Regions from separate parts of the Homo sapiens genome. Here all the other regions are linked to region 1. Evidence: promoter capture Hi-C in human tissues and cell types (Jung and others, 2019). All regions are on one chromosome and are shown on one strand. Each heading gives the region's core, a stretch centred on a gene start or on the middle of the fragment in contact. The rest is flanking DNA. Distances are from core to core; before and after follow the strand shown.

What was found. The method cuts DNA at HindIII sites, captures the fragments that hold promoters and counts their contacts. A contact is called where the count stands out against the background at its distance.
Region 2: a fragment that was not itself captured here is called in contact with the fragment with the promoter of ISL1 in region 1 in 3 of the 25 tissues and cell types used here (H1 embryonic stem cells, adrenal gland and hippocampus).
Region 3: a fragment that was not itself captured here is called in contact with the fragment with the promoter of ISL1 in region 1 in 5 of the 25 tissues and cell types used here (adrenal gland, heart left ventricle, neural progenitor cells and 2 more).

Annotation. Positions count from the first base shown.
Region 1 is chr5:51,381,365-51,385,088 of GRCh38, reverse strand. ISL1 (ISL LIM homeobox 1) reads right to left here and starts at 1,641. Exons shown (of 6, transcript NM_002202.3): 1 at 1,390-1,641; 2 at 359-548. The coding sequence starts at 1,417. ISL1-DT (ISL1 divergent transcript) reads left to right here and starts at 1,757. Exons shown (of 2, transcript NR_046243.1): 1 at 1,757-2,115. The HindIII fragment of the contact is 8,696 bases long and covers 1-3,407 here.
Region 2 is chr5:51,479,173-51,482,896 of GRCh38, reverse strand. No RefSeq gene overlaps it. Among named protein-coding and RNA genes, the nearest start is that of ISL1, 98 kb to the right of the region's middle. The HindIII fragment of the contact is 5,002 bases long and covers 1-3,724 here.
Region 3 is chr5:51,456,186-51,459,909 of GRCh38, reverse strand. No RefSeq gene overlaps it. Among named protein-coding and RNA genes, the nearest start is that of ISL1, 75 kb to the right of the region's middle. The HindIII fragment of the contact is 3,279 bases long and covers 347-3,625 here.

The DNA.
Region 1 (3,724 bases), core at 392-2,891:
TCAACCCTATTTTAAAGCTAAAAATCCAAACTTCTCCATCTTTTTAAAATTTTGTTTTGTAAGGGGGAGGGTGAAAGAGGAAAATAATTTGTGCATCATAAACTCCAAGAGTAATTAAACAAGCCTCAATACCCCGGAATTATGAATACCACTGTTAAGGGTTTTTGTTTTTCTCAACTAAAGAATGAAATGAACAGCATAGCTTGATTTTTTTAACACATGTACAGGGTAACTTTGGCTTGTATGACTACACTGAGGCAAACTTCACAAAAAGACAAAGCCACACCAAATAATACATAAAGAGTGGGGAGATTCAGGGAAATCCCACAAAATTAAGAAAGAAGTGTAAATGCCATACCTGATATAATCTCTTTTACAGTAGGTTTTCCCATCCCTAACAAAGCATGTACAGCTCTCGTCCAAATACTGATTACACTCCGCACATTTCAAACATGCCGCATGCCATTCCAAATCCGGAGAAACCCTCAGAATATACTGATCGTGAATCTGATTGCCGCAACCAACACATAGGGAAATCAGACGTTTTTCTGAAATGAAAATAAATACATGATTGACTAACCGTTTACTTCCTACAGAGATAAACACACTTTTAGTGTCGTTCTCTTATAGGGCGTACTCTGGGAGGTTTTTTTCTTTCTTTCTTTCTTTCTTTTTTTTTTTTTTTAGAGCATTGCACTTTGGGATGGTAATTGAAATGTGCCATCAAAACCTTGACTCATTTTTAAAAGGAGGTGGAATATATGTAAAATGCAGATTGGAATAGTCTACATTTGTACGCCTAGCACGCAATCAAACCCGCTCATTTTGTATTTCTCCCCCCCCCCTTCCTCTTTGCTATAATCATTGGGAAAGATTATGGATAAGTCAAGTCAAAGAAAAGGTTTTGACTAGAAGCGTTAAGTGAACGCAGGGATGTCTATATTTTCCGTGAAGCGCGCTCTTAAATAGCACACAGGACTGGATATTGTTAGCAAGAGCAGGCATAAATACAGTTGTCACTCGTTCTCTTTTGCAAGTCTAATGCTAATTCACATCTCTGGGCATTGACTGTGCAGGCAGACCTTTGCAACATAATAACCTTCTCGGAGAGCTCAGGATTCCCCAGGAGGAAATCACCGCTTAGCACCAGAAAGCTAGAGCTTTGGAGGGCACACAGGCGAATTCACACACAAGGTACAATCAGTTTCCCGAAGATAAGAACCGACAGTAAGCATGCAGGCGTGGCGGCAACAAGAAAAAGCCACCTTTTCTCTTTCTCCAGGCAATGACTCCAACTCCAAAGAGCCCTTGGCACCTCAGCCTGTGCCTGAGAGAGAACCCCGCACAAGAACAGCACACCGAGCCCCACAAGGTAAAATAGCCTCTTACTTTTTGGTGGATCTCCCATGTCTCCCATATCTGTAAGAGGGAGTAATGTCCACAGTGAAATGGTGGTTGTACAGTTGGTGAACAGCCCACAGAGAGGATGCTGGAGCTGTGGCTAAGTGGGAAATATTGGCCCCTGGGGTTGCCAATGCTGAAAGAGCCGCTGCTCGGCTGCGCCGCGCCCTCGCGGATCTAGGAGTCCAATTTAAGCCGGCGGAGTTGGCGGAGCGGAGGCGCTGCGGCGGCGGCAGACTCGGCGCGGCTCGGGCACCTCTCTTCCTTATCTCTTACTCAAACTTCTCTGCTCCAACTCAGCTCCATCGCCATTGGTCTGACGCAGCGCGCGGGGACGTCAGGCGAGCGCCGCGCCCATTGGCTGCAGGGCGCGCGGCGCAGCTGTTCTGATTATCATATTTCAGCCTCGCCGCCGCTGAGCGCCACTGACCGCTCGGCGAGCCAGCGGGAGAGGATTAGGGCTCCCGAGGCAACTTGCTCGGGGCTCAGGCCGTTCTCCCCCGAAGCTCGGGCTGCCGGGCTGTTCTGGCTCTGGCCTCCCTCTCCTCCTCTTCCTCTTCCTTCTGTCCCCTCCCGCGTTCCTTCCCGGCCGCGCCGCCTGCGCCCTCGCCTCCTGTGGCGCTGCTCCTCCGCCCTGCGCTCCTGGGGTCCCCGCAGTCCGGCTGGCCGCGTTGCGCGCGGGGCTCACTTTCTGCCGCCGGTGGCGAGTGGCTGGTGGGTAGGTCTACCTGTTGACGAGGTCCCTCCCGGGCTCTAGGAAAAGGGGGGAACTTGGAGCAGGCCGTTCAGCTTGGTTTGGTCCCCACGCCGTGGTGCACATCCCCGGGGCCTGGCCTGCCTTGGCTGCTCCGGAGGGCTAGTTCCTCCAGAACTGGCTGCGCTCGGCGCGCTAGGGGAAGAAGAATCGGGAATGGGATGATTAAACCCAGAGGAACTGTTTCCTGACTGCTACACCATTACTCCGTCTCCCCCAACCTCAGATATCTAAAAACGTTGGGTGGGAGGAAAGGGGCGCTTCTTGCTGTTGGGACAATCAGGTTGGAACGCACCGGTAAACCGAAGTTGACTCCGCGGACTGACTTTTTGTCTTTCAGACCCGCGAGGTCTGCTTCTCAGTTTAACTCTAGAATTGAAGCTCACTAACCCGAAGCCAAAGAGCGAAATGATCTTTCAGTAGTCTAAAGTTTGTAAGATTTTTATATACTGTTCAATTCTTCTCACTGCTGGTCTCCTGCCCTTTGTTTTTAAGCAAACTTGTGCAACTAGCTGTGGTATTTTGGTAATTATAAGGACAAGTCTCCATGACTTTGTGGAGATTTTTTAAAAATGCATTAGTCTAAGGGCGCGAGTAGGGAGGGATTTATTACAGAACAGTGAAAGACCTATTTCACGTCCCCAGGCGTTAATATATAATTTTCTCTCGAGAAACTACTTGGAGAGAGAAGACTGTTAGGTGCAACTCGCCGGTAACCTTCTTCAATCATTCTTACATGTTCCCATCATCTGTTACGGTCTCCCAAAGACAGTCACAGGAAGGCCACGAAGAACCCCCGCGCTTCCCCCAAAGCTTCTAAAAAGCCATTTCTTATCTAATGGGGCTGCCAGTTTTATCTAAAAAGTCCTACAGACACAAACCATAGAAGGCTTAATTTCGGTGTCTTGTTGCTGTGAGAAGACCCGGTGTGTTAGGAAACTCCTTTCTTTATATCTTTCGCAAAATCTAACCCTTGATAAGAGCTGTAAATCCTGGCCGGCCGCATTGGCTGGGCTTGAACGGGTAATGCCTCTCCAAAGCGGAAAGGGAATCAAAGATGCGTAAGTTTCCTCCTGACCTAGCTGAGGCTTTCTTCCCCAGGAACTAGTTTTGATTTGTTTTTTCTCAAGGAGGATTTCAAATTGGATCTGTCTTCCCTTCCATTTTTATTATAAGTTGTTTTAGAGCGCGTGTATGAAAGCGAAAGTTGGATAGACCTAGGTTGATAAGTTTACCAGTTGTGTGGTGTGTGTTTTTTTTTTTTTTTTTTTTTGGTCTGTTTCTAGTCTCTGGTATTAGATGTATGGAGCCTTTTGTCAGGCTGCTTTTGCAAAGCTGATGCTGTTAATCTCAATACGAAGCAAATCTTCCTAGTATTTGTGTGTGTTTCCCATAGAGATAAACATGTTGACCCTAGTAAAAAAAAAAAAAAAAAAAGATACCACCACAATGCCAGAAAATAGAGTTTTACCTAGTCATATTCCATCATGCCACTTTTATAAGATGGAATTAAACACCAGAAGCCACCAGAAGCCTGATGACTTACATTTGAGATCCACAAAGCACCCT
Region 2 (3,724 bases), core at 625-3,124, 98 kb before region 1:
GAAAAATTACTTGCATTCCAATCATATGGCTAGAGAATCCTCCAGCAGAAAGTCTACTCTAAACTGGGTTGAGTCTGCATTTAGCAAAAGGCAGCAGATTTAAGTGGAGACAATGCTGAGCTCATGAGATAAAGAGCAAGATGAGGCTATAAATGGCAAATAGAGCATGTGATGAGAACTGGGAAAGATGTGGAGAAGTTTAGGAAGCATTTTGTGAGGAGAAATAAGACAGACAAGCGGTTTAGGAAAAGGCTGCCATTTTCCAGCACTGAGTCAGAGGTGGTAACTTTAAGTAACTATAGAAGTCTTCGGGAATCCACATCAAGGAAAGATCTGTTTTCTTCTTAGGAAGGAGTGGCTGAAGCTTTGGGTATTTTTGTTTGTTTGTTTCCCATTTTGTTTTATAATTTTTTTTTATTTTACTTTAAGTTCTGGGATACATGTGCCGAACATGCAGTTTTGTTACATAGGTATACATGTGCCATGGTGGTTTGCTGCACCCATCAACCTGTCATGTAGGTTGTAAGCCCTGCATGTATTAGGTCTTTGTCCTAATGCTGTCCCTCCCCTTGCCCCCCATGCCCGGACAGGCCCCGGTGTGTGATGTTGCTCTCCCTGTGTCCATGTGTTCTCATTGTTCAACTCCCACTTTGCAGGGGCATGAATGAAGCTGGAAACCATCATCCTCATCAAAGTAGCACAGGAACAGAAAACCAAACACCGCTTTGGGTATATTTTTTAAGCAGCAACAAGAGATTCAATCACAAATGAGTGGGAGATGATGATTCCAAAGATAAAAGATAACCTAATGTTCAAACTCCCAGAAAGGGGTGAAATTCTGGGAGAATTAACTTTGTGAAGGAGGGGACAAAGGGGAGCAATATTTTGTTCTGAGTAGGATGAGATACTATTAACTTGGGAAAAGAAGTGAACAAGCATGGTTGTAAGACAGGGAATGCAAGATTTTTCTGTTAAATTAGGAATTGATAATGAAAAAGATAGAAAAAGAATTGACGATTTGAGAAAAGAAGATACAGTTTAAAATGACTTCTGCAGGTATATGGAAACTTGAATAAAAAATAAATGAGATAAATTAGTTTTTTAAATTAAGATTACTCTACAGTATCAAGGGTCCAACTTAGATCACACATTTACATTGAACTTAATCCACTTCTGTAATTTTCTCCAACTCTATCCAAATTGCTTGTGAGCGGAATTAGAGAAAATTGATCATTTGGTTGAGCTAGGTTTGGGGAATTAACTGACAAACTGAAATAAATGTGTCAGTTTGCTCGGGTTAGGAAATGGAAAATGATAAGGAAGATAGAGGTGAAATAACTGAGCATGGCATCCATTATAGTTTGCATATGAAGTGAAACAAGAAACGGACTTATAAAATCAAATTGGATTAAGAAACTGATGTTAAGTGTGAGGTCAAAAGCAATGTTTAGTAAACATGAGAGACAGAGAATGGTAGCAAGCTGTAGTGTCAAGAAAATTTCAAAATATTACAGATATCGAATACTTTGGGATGCTGATAAAGTCCATAAATTAAAAAGGAAAGTGGAATAATGAAAAGGAATTTGTAGAACAATCTCTTGAAAACATTGAAAGGCAGCCAAGAGAATCCTCATCCTGCCTGCTCTCTCAGGCTACAGAATAAAGGGTGAATGTTACCATTCTGGAATCAGACACAGCTAGGTTCAAATCATGACTGTTTCTCCTTATGTAGGTAACCATAGGCAAACTAGTTTTCTGTGCCTCACTTTTCTTATCTGTAAAACAGGAATGTGCCTGCTTCCTAAGTTTGCTGGGAAGATTACATGAGATAAAAGAGTTTAGTACAGTGTAAGCTGAGAGCAGGTGGTTCAGTTGGACTCTGGAGAAGCACTGCTTGTGTTTGAATCCCAGCTGTGCCACTTACTGGTTTTACAACCTTAGGCAAATATTAACCTCTCTATGCTTCAGTTTTCTTGCATGAAAATTGGGATAATAATAGTAACTAACTCATATGGTGGTTGTGAAGATTAAGTGAACCACATGAAATTGCTGCTCTTCAATCATTTTTGACCTGTAAGAATAGCAATTTTATGTAGTTCAACCTAATAATACATGCACATTGTTTAAGATAGAGCATGGCACATAGGAAGTCATCAACAAAAGTTATCATGAAAGGATAGCTACTACTACTATTACTACTAGTACTTGTACAACTAATAAAATAAAAATTCTTAATGTGGCAGAGTCATAAGAGTTTCAGAATTAACAATGAGAAGACAGATCTCAATTAAGGCAAGGCAGTGAAGAGAATATAATAAAAACCACCAGGAACCACATAAACACATTCCATTAAATTCTTTGTCAATACAATAATGTTCTACAATTCACACAGCCTGCCACTTTGTCTTGTTCAACTCAACATCCCTGCCTGCCTGGGTAACTGTAACTTTCCCCCAGTTTAATTATCTCCCTTCAGTTTGTTTTCTGTAATCCCTGTCACATAATTCTCTCAAATTTATCTTTCTAAAAGGCCAATTTTTGTGTCCCCTTTTATCCTTAGAAAAATGAATAAAATTCATGCTCCTCATGTTTGTCTTCAAGAGCTGACGTGATTTGGCCCAAAATTAGCCCCAAAGCCTGTATTCCCCATATACACCACCCAAGCCTACTGCTTCAGTTAAACCAGGCTACTCGTAGCTTTGCAAATATGATGTACATTCCCACCTTGTCCCCATCTGACTGAAATATATTTCCAGGCTCTTGGTTAGTGCCTATTCATAACCTCAAATTCCATTTCAATTTCCCATTGACTAGTAGACTATTGAAATTTCAGTTCCCCATTTTACTCATATCTCTCTCACATCTGAGCTGCCCAAGTGCTGTGCAAAGATCTGTAACACTACTTTCATTTGTATTTGTGTGTGTAGGTGTGTATTCTATTTTCTCATGAGTCTTCAGGCACCCTTAAAACAGAAAGCATATTTGAAACCTCTTTGTATTCCTCATTGAACAACCACAGTTGACTTGTATTACATTATTATAACATTTATAGATGTTTACAACAATTTTAGAGTGACAAATATTGGGAGAACTGAAAACTAAGAAGATAAATTTTTGATACTCCCATAAGTGAAATACATATTCTCAATTCAGATGTGAAAATTGTTCATACAGCAAAATTTAGAAGAAAACAAAGAAAAGTTTACTTCCTACCATTCTTAGATCTACACTAGTGTAAAGCCTGTTAGATTGTCCTTACAGATAGACGAGAATCCAAAGAACAGAATCCAAAGGACCTTAATAAATTCTATTACCTAGAGTATAAATAAATTTTATTATTTCGAATGTAAATAGAAGCTTATATTCTATTACTTAGAATATAAATAAATTATTTAAAATATGGATAGAACCTTATATTCTATTATTACTTAGAATATAAGGCTACGCGTCTATAATTGACTGTGGAGGAAACATCTTAGAAAGCATGTAGATTTTTTTCTAATGAGCCCTGTGGTTAAGTTTGGAAATACTTTAGCTATATGCAAAATCAATGGGAAATTACCTCACTGGAATTTTTTAAAATTTATATGACTACAACTTTAAGAATGATTCCTAAAATTTCAAGATAAATAAAATTTTATTGCTTAAATCTTCTATTTTGAAAATGGGGCCCACTAAGATTAAGTCTCAAGTTCAAAGTTAAGGCATAGACTTCCAACTCTTT
Region 3 (3,724 bases), core at 737-3,236, 74 kb before region 1:
CTGGAGCCAGATTTTAGGTTCCTACCCACACTCCAAATGAATTCAGGATGGCCTGAGATGCGTTAAAGTAGCCTGTTTAATGCTTTGTTTTTCACACTTCAGTAAGCAGTCCAGCCTCTTTGCTTCCTCTGACAAAACCATCTTTGCAGAAACTGAAGTAGAGAACTATCTGGTGAAGCTTCCCATGATCCAAAAGTTGTTCCATTGACTACTTTTTGAATCTCCTAATTTTCTGTAATTAGGCTCTTTTTGAAGGAAATAAATTCCCCTTTTATTAAACCTTAACTCCAATATTATATCAAAATGTTTATTTCTAAGCTCCCCATGAAATATGTGTAAATGTTCAAGGTCATATAAAATTATCAAAATTATTTTCTGCAAAACAACTAGTTGACTGTACAAAAATAAAAAATGCTGTTCTTTCTCTGTCTCCCACACTAACATTCTTCATAGTGTTTAACACTCTATCAGTTGGAAGTTGAAGCATTCTGGAATTCAGTGTAAGTGCTTGAAGCTTCTTCAGAAAAAAAATAATAGAAATACATTTCAATTGTTATGATTTGCTAGAATACATCTTTCCTCCCCTGAGGGCTTAATGAATGCTGAAACTTTTTCCCTGATTTTTAAAAATCCATTGACAGCGTTCCTAATGTTCCCTAATCAGCTTTAATTTCTTAGTGATTTTAGTTGATAAGAGTTACTGTATTTGGCAAAGATAAAAAAGAATCAATTAGGAGGTATTTTTTCTTCCTTTCTTTCACTGGATCTTAAAAATATAAGGCATCAAGAGTGATAATGTACTAAATTCCAATAGCTTTTGATATTCACCATCAAATTGTTCATCAGAGAGAAATACTAAAAAGGAAAGAATAAAAAGTCTAGATTTTAATCATATTAAAACCTTATGATTTATTCCGTTTTGTTATGTAGATAGTAACCAGAAATGTTCCACATGCGGTGAGGCTAGCTGAGGCCCTGAACACACTTTGCCATGTCATTTGCTCTAGGAATCCTAGGACATTCCTGTCTTTCTGTGTAAGTGGCTAAAACAGATGAAACTGTGTCTATTTCACCTGAGAAAATAACCTTCAAATGAGACTGTTTGCCCCAGAAAGAGTGAACAACTGGGGATCTGAAACACAATGTTCCACCCATAGGCAGCCATTCCTTGCACTACCCAGCTGCTCTGGCCATTTCTGAACAATGTGCCATGGAAACACATGTAACTGATCTTAATGGTAAATGAGAAATGCGCCATTCTCCTGCGTGAAGAAGTTAAGGGGACCCAATAAATTCATTTATAATGTGTTTCTGTCCAGATGAAAACCAAGATGTCATAACACAGTGGATCAATGTTATTTGGAAAAATTTTCTCAGATAACTAAAGTTGGCTAAGCTATATCTGATTTCAGATGATCTTAGGCAGATTTCCAAGAGAAAAAAAAATCTCAAGTAGTATCTGCTTCAGAGCCAAAGAGCTACTGCTACTGCACTGTATCAAAGATACCATGTTTGAATTCTGGATCTGCCATTAATTTACTCAGCAAATACTTACTGAAAGCCTACTACCTTCCAGGCATTGTAGTTAGCACTGGCTAAAGGACAGTGAATGAAACAGTGATTGTTCTGTCCTGTGGGTTTTAGAGTCTATAAAAAGGCCAGATAAACCAATAGGCAATTATAATACAGGATGATTAAAAACCATGACAGGGAAGTGTAGACTATGGAAACTCCTGAAAAAAATACAGTAATAGTTTCTGCTTCTGTAACTAATTGCCATGTAGAACAATAAAAATTTTTGCATCTCAATCTGAGAAAAAAAAAAAAACAGAAAAAACACAAATTTATTATATTAGAGTTCTGAAGGTCAAAAGTCATAAGTCCCACTGGGATAAAATCACATTTCAGTAGGACTGTGTTCCTGCTGGAGTCTCTAGGGGAGAATCTGTCCATTTCCTTGTCTTTTTCAGCTTCTAGAGGCCACTTGCATTCCTTAGCTTGTGGTCCCTTCCTGTCTTCGAAGCCAGCAATGGCCAGTGGAATTTTCCCTGACACTGACCGTCCTGCCTCCCTATTTCACCCATAAGGACCCTTATGATTACATTGGGCCCACCTAGATAGTCCAGAATCGTCCTCCATCTCAGGGTCACCTGATTCACAATGTCAATTCCATATACAACCTTAATTCTTCCTGGCCATGTAACCTAACATATTCACAGGTTCCAGGAATTAGAATGTAGACGTCTTTGAGGGCCATTATTCTACCTAAGTACCTACCTAGACTGGGGGTAAGAAAGACAAAAAGTGAGGAGAGGCTTCTCAGAGGAATTGAAATGTAAAATAAAGCTTGAAGGGTAAGCAGAGTTTAGGTAGATAAAGGGAGGACTTAGCAGTGTAAGAGTGGGTTGCTCCTTTCTGACTGTAGGAACAGCATGTGTGAGGCCCTAGGAGTGAAATAGACCATGGCCCATAGGAAGATGTAAGAAAAAAAATCGAGAATGGCTGGAGCAGAGATTATGAGGATAAGAAGACGGTGACAAAAGAAAAACCCAAATGATTAAGACCTTAGAAAAAAAATAGTAAAAGTTTAGGAGTATGTTATCTGAATCTCAACAGGTAGAGAATAGCATGAAGGTATAGAGAGGAGATGAAGAGTGCTTGACAGTTTTGAGCAACGTGGATAGGTCAACAGAGGGGAAGCATTGCTACCCTAAATTTGGAGGGGCAGTGGAGGGAGGGAGGCAGTAAACAAAACAGAAAAGGGAAACTTTGTCATAGAAGCCTTAAGTAGAGGTACACAGACAATCCTTGGCAACCCTGCCTGGAGTTGCCACAGCAACCTGATACCCTGCTTTCAAAATGAATAAATTAAGATTTTGATGAATGTTCGAAGGAGACGTACAGAATGCCAACAGAGACACATAGAAGCCCCAAACTTAAGAAACCCTTAAGCTGAGATCTGGAACATAACTAAGACATCACTACATGAGCAGGGAGGATCTTTGAGGCAGAGATATAACAGTCACAGAGAACCAGTGGTAGCAAGGAACATGCTCTGTTCCAGAAGCCAAAAGTCTCTGCACCTTGAGAGAAAGTAGAGAAAAGAGAGTCCTGCAAGTTAAGCCTAGTGCAAGGCAGGTGGTGGGGCGGGGGCCAGGGGTTCATAGAGCTCTGTCGGATCTGTTAGGGATTTGAAACTTTGTCCTGAGACCAGTGAGATGTTACTCATAGCTTAACCAAAAGAACAGCATGATGAAATTATCCCTTTAAAAGATGATTTGGCAGCAGTGCGGAGAATGTACTGAAGAGGGTAAAAAATAATGTGCCTACAAGACAGCACAGAGGCTTCCTTGGAGAGAAATGCCCCTATACATCACAAAAAGAGCAATGGCAACTGGAAGGAAAAACTACAGTTGATTCTGCCTTCCAGAGAAGGGATATAATTCATCCCTAAAAAGATGGCTCTTTTTTTTTTTAGAAAAAAATACCTTAATGGTGTATGCTGTTTCCTTTGGTTGAGAAAGATCAGGTCCCTGGGCAGGGCTGGATGGGTAGCATGAGATTAAAAAAAAACAGTGCTGAACTGTTACTCTGTTTTATTATTAAAGGGAGAAGAATTTGACTTTGCTACAGGCAACCTAAGAGAGGGGCCCAGTATTGAGAAGAAAGGGGAGTTGCAAGGAAGAGCTAGGAAAAAATGCAGGAGGGCTTCTGGCATGCATGT